Regions from separate parts of the Homo sapiens genome. Here region 2 is linked to region 1. The links are contacts of gene promoters, found by promoter capture Hi-C in human tissues and cell types (Jung and others, 2019). All regions are on one chromosome and are shown on one strand. The core of a region is centred on a gene start or on the middle of the fragment in contact, and the rest is flanking DNA. Distances in the headings are between cores, read along the strand shown. Region 1 holds the start of CCDC97 (coiled-coil domain containing 97). Region 2 overlaps LOC124904790.

Region 1 (5,836 bases), core at 1,539-4,038:
AAAATACAAAAAATTAGCCAGGTGTGGTGGCGCACTCCTGTAGTCCCAGGTACTCAGGAGGCTGAGGTAGGAGAATTGTTTGAACTCCGGAGGCAGAGGTTGCAGTGAACCGAGATCACGTACTCCAGCCTGGTCAACAGAGCGAGACTCCGTCTTAAAAAAAAAGAAGGCAACGTCAAAAGGGGAAGCAGAGATTGGAGTGATGTAGCCACATGCCAAGGAATTCCAGAAACCACCACTGGCTGGAAGAGGCAAGAAATGGGTTTTCTCCCAGAGCCTGTGGGGAAGCACGACCCTGCAGACACCTGGATTTCAGTTCAGCAACACTGACTTCAGCCTTCTGGCCTTGAGAACTATGAGAGAATAAAGTTCTGTTGTTTGAAGCCATGCAGTTTGTAGTACTTTGTTACAGCACCCCTGGGAAACAAAGTCAGGCTGAGAAGGAGCAGCCTGAGAGACAGGCAGGAAATCAGGCACTGTGGTGTCGCTGAAGCCAAAGGAAAACATGCAAAAAGGATGGAAGGATCAACAGCATTTAATTCTAGTCCAGTCTAGTAAGAAAAAAAACCTGAATGGGCCAAGTGTGGTGGCTCACACCTGTAATCCCAGCACTATGGGAGGCTGAGGCAGGAGGATCTCTTGAGGTCAGAAGTTCGAGGCCAGCCTGGCCAACATGGTGAAACCCCATCTCTACTAAAAATATACAAAATTAGACAGGCATAGTGGCGGGCACCTGTGATCCCAGCTACTTGGGAGGCTGAGGCACGGGAATCACTTGAACCTGGGAGGTGGAGGTTGCAGTGAGCTGAGATCATGCCACTGCACTCCAGCCTGGGCAACAGAGTGAGACTCTCTCAAAAAACAAACAAACAAACAAAAACCTGAATGGGGGGACTGAATTGAACAACATGGGGGAAGTCAGTGCAGACCCTAATCAGAGCAGTTTCTTAGGAGAAAAGTCAGACAGTCGTGAGCAGGAGACGAGGAAATGAAGACCAAGTATACATGACTCTCTGAAGGAGACAGATGGGGCCAAGAGACAAATTTTTTTTCTTTTTTTTGAAACAGGGTCTTGCTCTGTTGCTCAGACTGCAATGCAATAGTGCAAACACAGCTCACTGCAGCTTTGACCTCCTGGGCTCAAGTGATCCTCCCGCCTCAGACTCCTGAGTAGCCGGGACCACAGGAATGCACCATCAAACCTGGCTAATTTTTTTTTTTTTGAGACAGAGTTTTGCTCTGTTACCCAGACTGGAGTACAGTGGTGCGATCTCTGCTCACTGCAACCTCCGCCTCCCGGGTTCAAGTGATTCCAGTTGGTGCCTCAGCCTCCCGAGTAGCTGGGATTACAGGCACATACCACGACGCCTGGCTAATATTTGTATTTTTAGTAGAGATGGGGTTTCGCTATGTTGGCTAGGCTGGTCTCCAACTCCTGACCTGAGGTGATCTTCCTGCCTCCGCCTTCCAAAGTGCTGCGATTACAGGTGTAAGCCACCGGGCCCGGCCTTAATTTTTAAATTTTTTGTAGAGATGGGGTCTGGCTATGTTGCCAGTGCTGGTCTCAAACTCCTGGGCTCAAGTCTCACTCTGCTGCAGAGGCTGGAGTGCAGTGGTGTAATAATCTTAGGTCACTGCAATCTCAAAGGATTCGAGTGACACTCCCACCTTAGTCTCCTGAGTAGCTTGTCCTAGCTACTCCCTAGCCACCAGGCCTGGCTAATTTTTAAATGTTTATAGAGATCAGGTTTCTCTCTCTTGCCCAGGCTGGTCTCAAACTCTTGGGCTCAAGCAACTCTCCTGCCTTGGCCTCCCAAAGTGTTGGGATTACAAGCGGGAGCCACTGCACCCGGCCTTAAGACTTTTTTTAGGTTAAATTTTTTATTTTTAGAAAATTTCAAACATACACAAAAGTAGAAAGTACAACGACAATTCTCCCCCTACCTCCATATACCAATCATCTCCATCTGGCTTCCACAATTACCAATTCTTGGCCAGTGGTGTTGGAGCCACGCTTCCAATCACACCTCACCCGACGTCGGATTACTTTGAAGGTTGTGGGAAAGCACAGAAATTGAGTAAGGACTTTGAAAGGAGCCTGGCTGGATTTCGGACTTTGGGGGAAACGGGAGTTACAATGAAATGAAGGAATCGTTAGATTGGGATAAGTTTGCATGAGGCAGGTAGAAGTTTAGCCTGGAAAGGTAGGAGGATTCGTCTAGAGAGCAAGGGAAGGCTCAGCTTGGTACAGGGAAGGAGGTAATTTGAGAAGGGCTGGTCTGAGGCAATGCAGGAATTAGGCCGGGGTAGAGAGGTTTCTGTTAATTTGAGAGTTAGCCTGGTAAGGAAATGAATTAGGGACATGGAAAGGATTGGTCTGGAACTGGGAAGAGGTTAATTTCGGGGGGAAGGAATGGAGGAAAAGAAGGTCAGCCCGCGACAAGGGAGGGAATAATCTGGGCAAAGTAGTGAAGAGGACCGGTAAAGCTGAGGGGGGTGGGTGTCCCCCTAAAACGAGTCCTACTTCGCGTTCCTGGGGGAATCATTTCCTAGAGACACCGCAACCGCACCCACCCGCCGCCTGCGCGTGACCAAGATCTCACCCTTATCGGGTTCCTTCGCCGCCGTCGCCGTCGCCACGGCCTCCATCCTGATTCTCTCGGACTTTTCAACCGCCCGGCGGGCCCCGCACACTAACCTCCGGCCCACGCACGCAAGAGACACTTTCGCCTGAGAATGTTCCGGGTCCGGGTGCACCGCTGCGCCCAGGCACCGAAGTTCCGGGCCTAAGGCAGACGTTGCATTGCGCATGCGTGCCTCTCTCGGGCTCCGCCCTCCGCAGCCAGGAAGGAAAGGGGCTCCCCGGAGAGTGAGAGACCCTTAAACCTCTCCTGTCAGTCAGTAGGAACCAGAATCATTGTTCGTTTTATCACTGCTGTGACTCCAGCTCCCAGCGTGCTTAATTTTGGGATGGATGGCTAAAGGACTTTCCCCCGGAGCCTGGAGCCGTCATACGCTGAGGGTTCGTGCTCTCGTTTAGACCCCCGCTTGTCCTTTTCCTTTCTTAACTCCTTCAGGAATTCAGGAATATTACTAAGCCTTGACTCTTTTTTTTTTTTTTTTTTTTGAGACAGGGTCTCGCTTTGTCGCCTAGACGAATGCAGTGGCGCGATCACAGTTCAAGTAACCTCACATTCCTGTGCTCAAGTGATCCTCCTGCCTCAGCCTTTGGAGTACTTGGGACTACAGGCGCGCACAACCGCGCCCGGCTAATTTTTAAAATTTTTTTGTAGAGCCAGGGGTCCCACTTTGTTGCCCAGGCTAGTCCCCAACTCCTGGCCTCAAGCAATCCTCCCGCTTCAGCCTCTCAAAATGCTGGGATTACGCGCGTGAGCCACCAGCCTGGCTTACTTCCGTCATCATACCCTGTCTCTGGCTGGCATGAGATGGATAGTGAGATAGAACTTCCCATTTTGTGTTCCCAGGACCTGGAGGAAATCTACAGGTGTGAAACAAGACAACTCTGGTCCTTATTTCCCTATGGGATGGGTGGGGCTCTATTTAGGTGTTACCAGCAGAGTAGACAGACATGTCACTCAGTGGCCAGGGCTTTGATGGATCCAGAGGGCTGAGGGAGCTGTCCACCCCAGGCTGGAGGGTCAAGGAAGCCTTCTTTCTGGGAGGGTACCCTCAAGCTAAGACCTGAAGAACGAGTAGGAGCTGGGTTAAGAGGAAGGTAGGGAAGAGTCTTGAGGAGGATGGCACGTACGGACGGTTCTGGTTGCTGCAAGCACTTCACTACGGTCAGGGCATAGGAAAGGAGCTCTAACTTGAAAGCCATGATTGGGCTGTGGAGGTTTTGAGAACCTCATGAATTTTTATGCAAAATTCCATGTACCTCTGTATTCTCCAATGCAGTGGTTCATGGCATCATTTGTGGGTTCCAAAAAGGACTTATGGCTCCTCAGAACAAAATAAACACTGATTTGATATTCAAAGGGGGAGCAGAAAGAGAGGGCGCCAGCGATGTTACCAGGTGCTAGGCCATGCAGGGCCTCATAAGCCATAGTAAGTGGCTTGACCTCCTTTATTCTGAAGGGAGTGGGCATCAAGGGACTGGAGATGAGACGTGTGAGAAAAACTGGCTGAGAACAGAGGAAGAGCTTCCCCATTTGCATTCCCTTGAGGTCTGGAGTTGTGGAAGAAAGCCAAGGAGGTCCCTATTTACCAACCCAGATTCCTAGGCATTACCAGGAGAGGCCAGCAGAGGGCGCTGTAGCCCAGCATATGGACATGAAGGGAAGGGGACTTTCCAGACTAAAGGCCCTGCCACCTCCTCTCTGGCGCATTCTAGGGTCCCTTTTAGCCACCAACCTTGGTTCCTTCTCACGTTCTGATGCCCTACCCGAGATTCTGAGACTAGTCAGTTTCCCTCCCTTGTTTTTGTTGCCCATCTCCCCTTCACAAGGCTCTGAGCTCCCACCAGGGAAGATTGGGGCTGAATTGGCTTCTCCTGTGGCCCAGCATTGTCTCTCACAAGGAGCCAGGAACACAGCATGTATGAGGGAACGAAGACATAAGGTTGCTAAGGAAGGGGAAGATGGGCCATGGGGATGCAATCTGGAGTCTTTTACCCTGGCTCACTCCTCCAGGAAGCCCTCCCTGCACACCACCCCAGGCTCTCACAGCTGACCACTTGGTGCTGGCAGGTCTTTGTTCTCTCTGGAGTGGGAGCTCTGTGAGAACGGGGTCCAGGACTGCCGTGGCCATACTATGTCCCCAGCACTGTCCAGGACAGCTGAAGAACACAGCAGGTGGCTCACACACACTGGCTGAAACATGAAGCTCCTGGAATCCCCATGAGCCCCAAACACAGAACAGGCAGGAACTGTCCTCCGTGCTGCACACAGGCCAGGCCTGAGGCAGGTGGTCTGTGGATGCCCAGTGATGATGCCAAACAAACCAGCCCTGGTCTCTGCCCCATCAGTCCCACCCATCCCTCCACCTAGAGGCCTGTTCCATGTCCTTTACTCAAAAACTCCTGGAGGGATTTTAGACTGTGAGAGGTAGAGAACAAGAGAAGCACTTTAAAAATGAACTAGTGGATTTTAAACCAGGGACCCTTGTTTAAGCGTGCATTTTTAGCACCAAAATCGGGGCCAGGCACATGAATCCCTCAGTTAAGTTGTTTAATGAATGAGTAAATAATTTCCCTTTAAAGAGGCCCCCACCCCAATTAACGGCCAACTGCAGTAACACTTCAGGGTTTCAACCCTGCTTCCTTCCTGCTAGGAGGTGCCATGTCATTTATTCAAAGAAAACAAAACGAAACCAAACAAAACAGGGCAAACACATTTCTTAATAAGTGCAGTTTGTTAAAATCATGTTAAAACATATGAGTCAAGGGGAAGTAAAAATAAAGGGTATCACTGTAGGAAAAGCTTTTGGGTCTGGCACCTGGGAGACCACTGGAGAGGAGGCAGTGGGAGAAACTTCAAGTTCTGAAGGGAAGGAGCCCCCCAACCTCCCCTTCTTCCCTCTCACCCACTGAATCCCACCAGAAACTACCAAGACGCCCGGAATAAAAGGTTTCAAGTTCAATAGTCACTCTCTCCAAATACAAAAAGCAGTTACAATTCAACTGAACACAGAAGCTTGTGTGCAAAGTTATGGGGAACTGGGGCATCGTATAAAAAGTTGGGTTAAAGATGATTCTGTGGTTTGGTTTTGTTGTGTTTTGTTTTGTGGCTCTTCCTCAGTCACCTGAACTCAGGAAAGAAATGCTTATCTTGATGAAATATCAACAGCCCACCCACAGTAAAAAGACAAATTCTAA
Region 2 (6,183 bases), core at 73-2,572, 140 kb after region 1:
TACGGTGGCTCAGGCCTTTCGGAGGCCAAGGTGGGAGGATCGCTGGAGCTCAGGAGTTCGAGACCAGCCTGGGCAACATAGCAAGGCCCCCATCTCTAGAAAAAATTTAAAAAATTTAAAAATTAGCTGGGTGTGGTGGCAGACGCCTGAAGTTCCACCTACTTGGGAGGCTGAGGAGGGAGGATCGCTCAAGTTCGAGGCTGCAGTGAGCCATGATCGCGCCATGGCCCTCCAGCCTGGGCAAAAGAGCAGGACCTTGTCTCCAAAAAAGGAAAGAGAAAAATAAAATTTCAAAGACTACAGAAAAATAACTCCCTTTCTCCCTTCAACCCACTATTCCCTGGCTGCTGTCTATTTCAGTCCCACCCCCAGCTGTCCATCGCCGGCCACTCCTGCCATTACTATTGTTCTAAAGCTGCCAGAGTCAGCCTGGCCTGGTTCTATTCTTTTCTATCTTTCTAGAAGGTAAGACCCACTCTGGGTGGGTCAGGAGGTTAGTGTGTTACTTTTTTTTTTTTTTTTTTTTGAGACGGAGTCTCGCTCTGTCACCCAGGTTGGAGTGCAGTGGTGCGATTTTGGTTCAATGCAACCTCTGCTTCCTGGGTTCAAGTGATTCTTCAGCCTCAGCCTCCGGAGTAGCTGGGATTACAGGCATGTGCCACTATGCCCAGCTAATTTGTGTATTTATAGTGGAGATGGCGTTTCACCATGTTGGCCAGGCTGGTCTCGAACTCCTGACCTCAAATGATCTGCCTGCCTCGGCCTCCCAAAGTGCTGGGATTACATGCGTGAGCCACTGCGCCCGGCCTCTATGCGTTACTTTGGAGAAGTCACGTTCCTCTTTACACACCCATGTGTCCAAATGTGAAGTCCATTCCATCTCCATTTAGTTCCAGTTTTTATTTCAACATGCTGCAGCTTCCAGAATAAGGAGTAGCTGGAGAAGATCCAGAGTGTGGCATGCAGAAAGCCCCTCCACCAGTGCCAGGCACTGAGGCCCCAGGGAACTCCTGACCTCCGCTCCTTTATGCAGAGTTGATGCCAGGCCTGCATCCAGGCCTGACTGGGTGATGCTGGGGAGGCAGTAGAGACAGAGACAGCCCTACCCCCATGGGGCCCACAGTCCAGTTGAGGAGGCAGGTTAGTCACCAGACCTTGACTGCCCAGAGTGGTCGGGGCTGGGATGGGGGAGGCCAGGGGGCCTGTGGGAGCCCAGAGTAAGTGCCTGCCCTGGCCGGAGAGTGGTGAGTATCAGGGAGGGCTTCCTGGAGGAGGGGATACATGGATCTGAAGAATGACTCGAGAAAGATCATGGGGAAGAGTGTTCCTGCAGGGGGAATAGCATGTTGGGTGGCTGAGAGGGTAGCAGGAGGGATTGGAGGAGACCAGGGTTTTTGATGATGATTTCAGCACAGAGTGCTGGGGCTGTGGGGGAGGTGGGGGAACTGATTTCTCACCTCAGGGAGGGGCAGGACTTTGGAGGAGAGAGGAGAGCAAACATTCCAGGTGGGGAAACACCTGTTACAAGCCATAAGAGGGAGTGTATGGCGCTGGAGGCCCAGCAAGGCCAGTGTGGTTTAGCACAGATCCTTGCTGTGGACACAGAGTTGGGAGTCCTTGGCAGACAGACAGCAGATTCTGCAGCTCTGTGAGTGACCAGGCTCACCTGGGAGAGAGGGTGAGAAGAGGACCTGGTTTCTAGCATGTGGAGGTGGGGTGGGGGAGAAGGCAGAGCAAGGGAGACTGAGGGTGGGGACCCAGGAGGTGGAACACCGCCACCACCAGGAAGCTGGAGGAGGGGCTCTCAGCCAACTCCCCACCAGAATTTGTATTGTATAATTCTAAAAACGATGTCTGGTTAACATTTATTTTTATGTTCAAATGTATCTTTTTAGAATATTGTGCCAGTCTTGAAGATCACTGGAGATACTTCTACCTTCACCTACAATTTTCTTTCTTTCTTTTTTTTTTTTTTTGAGACAAGGTCTCACTCTCTTGCCCAGGCTGGAGTGCAGTGGCACGATCTCAGCTCCCTGCAACCTCAACCTCCCAAGCTCCAGTGATCCTCTCACTTTAGCCTCCCAAGTAGCTGGGACTACAGGCGCATGCCACCAGACTGGGCTAATTTTTGTATTTTTTGTAGAGACGGGGTTTCACCATGTTGACCAGGCTGGTCTGGAACTCCTGGACACAAGTGATCCGCCCGCCTTGGCCTCCCAAAGTGCTGGGATTAAAGGCGTGGGCCTCCGTGCCCGGCCCTGTTTTACTCTTTTCCTGGTGCCTTTTTTTTTTTTTTTGAATTGGAGTTTCGCTCTTGTTGCCCAGGCTGGAGTGCAATGGCGCGATCTCGGCTCACCGCAACCTCTGGCTCCCAGGTTAAAGGGATTCTCCTGCTTCAGCCTCTGAGTAGCTGGGATTACAGGCATGTGACACCACACCCAGCCAATTTTGTATTTTTAATAGAGATGGGGTTTCTCCATGTTGGTCAGGCTGGTCTCAAACTCCCCATCTCAGGGATCTGCCAAACTCCCCATCTCAGGGATCTGCCGCCTTAGCCTCTCAAAGTTCTGGGATTACAGGCGTGAGCCACTGCGCCCAGCCCTTCCTGGTGTCTTTGATGAACTACATTTGAATGTAGTCCAATTTATCAATCTTTTCAGTAATGTTTGTGCTTTTTTGTGTCATTTTTAAGAACACTTTTTCTCTCTTGGGGGCATAAAGATACCCTTCTAGATTATCTGTTAAAGCTTTTATTGTTTAGCTTTTCACATTGAGATATATGATCCATCTGGAATTAATATTTGATGTGATGTCAGGTAGGTTTCGAATTTCCTTTTTCCCCGTAAAGGTATTCAATGTCTCAGTCTCATTATGGAAAAGACCACCCTTTCCTCATGGTTCTGTAATACCATCCTTGGCATCAACCAGAAGTGGGTTCTTATTTTGGGCTGACTAATCTCTTCCATTGGTCTCTGTTCATGTTTGGGTAATTCTACACTGTCCTAATTACCATAGCTCCCTAGTAAGTTTGATATCAGGTAGAGTAAGTCCTCTTATTTAGTTTTTGTTTTTTCGGAGTCTTGCTCTGTCACCCAGGCTGGAGTGCAGTGGCGTGATTTCGGCTCAGTGCAACCTCTGCTTCCTGGGTTCAAGCGATTCTCATGCCCTAGCCTCCCAGGTAGCTTGCATTACAGGCACCTGCCAGCATGCCTGGATAATTTTTGTATTTTTAGTAGAGATGGGGTTTCACCATGTTGGCTAAGCTGGTCTTGAACTCCTGACCCCAAGTGATCCACCCACCTTGGCCTCCTCAAGTGCTGGGATTACAGGCATGAGCCACTGTGCCTGGCTGCTATTTTATGTATGATTTTTACATCCAAGTTTGGTAGTGAGACTGGCCTGTAATTTTCGTTTCTTATATTGTCTTAGGCAGGTTTTGGCAATTAAGTTTCTGCCTGCCTTATAAAACTGTGCTTTTTCTATACCATAAAAGAGTTTATGTGAGATTGGCATTATTTCTTCCTTAGATATTTGGTAAATTTCACTAGTGGGTTATCATAAACATTGGAGGGAAGATACTTAATTTTAGACTTGATTTCTTTAATCATTTTAGCATTATTCATATTTATTGTTTCTCCTTGTGTCCATTTTGGCAAGTTGTATTTATTTTTCTTTCTTTTTTTTGAGGTGGAGTCTCGCTCTGTTGCCCAGGCTGGAGTGCAGTGGTGCAATCTCGGCTCACTGCAATGTCTACCTCCTGGGTTCAAGCGATTCTCCTGTCTCAGCCTTCCAAGTAGCTGGGATTACAGGCGCCTGCCAACACGCCCGGCTAATTTTTTGTATTTTTAGTAGAGATGGGGTTTTGCCGTGTTGGCCAGGTTGGTCTTGAACTCCTGACCTTAGGTGATCCGCCCACCTCGGCCTCCCAAAGTGCAGGGATTACAGGAGTGAGCCACCGCACCTGGCCTATTTTTCTAAGGAATGTGTTCACTAATCTTCAAACTTTTGACATAAAATTGTTGCTGGTTTTTTTTTCTTTTTTCTTCCTGTCAAGCTGTTCTTTATTTCAGGGAGAGGGCAGGGGAGGGGGCTCAGTCTTTCTAGGCAGCAGCTTTCCTCATGGTGGCCAGCACCTTGCTCAGCTCCTTCCGCTTCCTCTTGGTGCGGATGTGCGTCCCCATCCTTTTCTTGATGAACTTGAGGGACCGTTTGTCCTTGGGGACCTTCAGCAACTCCATGGCGAGCCGCTTGTACGAGACGAAGCTACACACCTCCCGGATCATGTCCCGCACAAACCTGGTGTGTTTGGTCAGACGTCCGGGGCGGCAGCTGTGCCTGGGCTTGCTCACGTCCTTGGTCACCTTGGGGCCCACGGCCACAGGGTCGCGCAGAGCCATGGCTGCTGCTCTCCAATGGCAGCCGTGGCGGAAGCGCTGGTATTCTTTAAGTTTATTTTTATTGAAAAATTTTCGGCCGGTCGCGGTGGCTCATGCCTGTAATCCCAGCACCTTGGGAGGCCGAGGCGGGCGGATGGAGACCATCCTGGCTAACACGGTGAAACCCGTCTCTAAAAATGCAAAAAAAATTAGCCGGGCGTGGTGGCGGCCGGCGCCTGTAGTCCCAGCTACTCGGGAGGCTGAGGCAGGAGAATGGCGTGAACCCCGAGAGGTGGAGCTTGCAGTGAGCCGAGATCGCGCCACCGCACTCCAGCCTGGGCGACAGAGCGAGACTCCGTCTCAAAAAAAAAAAAAAGAAAAAAAGAAAAACTTTCATTGTCTACCCCCCTGGTGATGCAAGCTTGGAGAAAATGTGTTCACATAATTAAATAGATGGGAATCCAAAGAATATCAGTATAGCAATGTCCCTTAATTCTTTTAACTCCTTCTAAGCTATATGCCAAAAATCAATGGTCACCTATCTTCAAAATATAGTTGAATGACTCCTCAGCTGGCAATTGCTCTAGGTCCTCTTCTAGTTTTGTTGACTGCAAAGTATTGAAAACAAAACATTGAAAAGCAAAGACTTGAAGGCGGATTTATTACCCAGTCAATTGAATTCCTCCTAACACCACTATTAATGTTCTAGATGTCTCTATTTGGTCACCAGAGGATTTCAGCACTGAGAGCATGTACTGAAAATGGAAGAGAGGTAGGATTTTTTTTTTTAAGTGGGAACAAACAAATGAACAAAAAAGTGAGTAAAAAGTGGGGCCAGGCATGGTGGCTCACTCCAGTAACCCCAGCATTTTGGGAGGCTGAGGCAGGAGAATCACTTGGGCCCAGGAGTTCAAGACCAGCCTGGGCAACATAGTGAGACACTGTCTTTACAAAAAAAAAAAAAAATTAGCCAGGTGTGGTGGCACGTACCTGTGATTCCAGCTACTCAAGAGGCTGAGGTGGGAGGATTGCTTGAGCTTGGGAAGTTGAGGCTTCAGTGAGCCAAGATTGAGCCACTGCATTCCAGCCTGGGCAACAGAGCAAGACCCTTTCTGGCAAAAAAAAAAAAAAAAAGAAAAAGAGAAAGTCTGGGCACAGTGGCTCACGCCTGTAATCCCAGCACTTTGGGAGGCTGAGGCAGGCAGATCACTGGAGGTCAGGAGTTTGAGACCAGCCTGGGCAACATGGTGAAAACCCATCTCTACTAAACATACAAATATTAGCCAGGAGTGGTTGTGTGCGCCTGTAATCCCAGCTACTTGGGAGGCTGAGGCGGGAAAATCACTTGAACCTGGGAGGCGGAGGTTGCAGTGAGCTGAGATGGGGCCACTGTGCTCCATCCTGGGCGACAGAGCAAGACTCTGTCTCAAAAAAAAAAAAAAAAAAAAAAAAAAAGAAAGGAAAGAAAAAGGAAAAAGGAAAGAAAAAGAAAAAGTGAGTGATGGGTGAAAAGTGAAACAGGATATGGGTAAATCATTCCTATACAACTGGGGCATTTTCAGGCAGGTCTCCTCGGGGAACTGTTCAATTGAAAGGTGAGGATTTGGGCATTAATTTCCTTTATTTATTTATTTATTTATTTATTTATTTATTTATTTATTTTGAGACGGAGTCTCACTCTGTCGCCCAGGCTTGGCGTGCAGTGGCGCCATCTTGGCTCACTGCAACCTCTGTCACCTGGGTTCAAATGATTCTCCCGCCATCAAGCCCAGCTAATTTTTGTATTTTTTAGTAGAGACAAGGTTTC

The links. Contacts are between HindIII fragments. The study calls those that stand out against the background at their distance.
Region 2: a contact is called between a fragment that was not itself captured here and the fragment with the promoter of CCDC97 in region 1, in 4 of the 25 tissues and cell types used here (IMR-90 fibroblasts, bladder, lymphoblastoid cells and 1 more).

Annotation. Positions count from the first base shown.
Region 1 is chr19:41,307,124-41,312,959 of GRCh38, reverse strand. It overlaps CCDC97 (coiled-coil domain containing 97), which reads right to left and starts at 2,788. Exons shown (of 5, transcript NM_052848.3): 1 at 2,604-2,788. The coding sequence starts at 2,649. It overlaps LOC105372401 (a long non-coding RNA gene), which reads left to right and starts at 2,911. Exons shown (of 2, transcript XR_935968.4): 1 at 2,911-3,022; 2 at 3,135-5,421. HNRNPUL1 (heterogeneous nuclear ribonucleoprotein U like 1) reads right to left here. Exons shown (of 15, transcript NM_007040.6): 15 at 5,173-5,836. RefSeq lists enhancers at 2,453-2,742, 4,016-4,195. The HindIII fragment of the contact is 30,341 bases long and covers 1-5,836 here.
Region 2 is chr19:41,168,075-41,174,257 of GRCh38, reverse strand. The region is part of intron 2 of LOC124904790; the gene reads left to right. It also overlaps the pseudogene RPL36P16. Among named protein-coding and RNA genes, the nearest start is that of CYP2S1, 22 kb to the left of the region's middle. The HindIII fragment of the contact is 4,900 bases long and covers 1-3,772 here.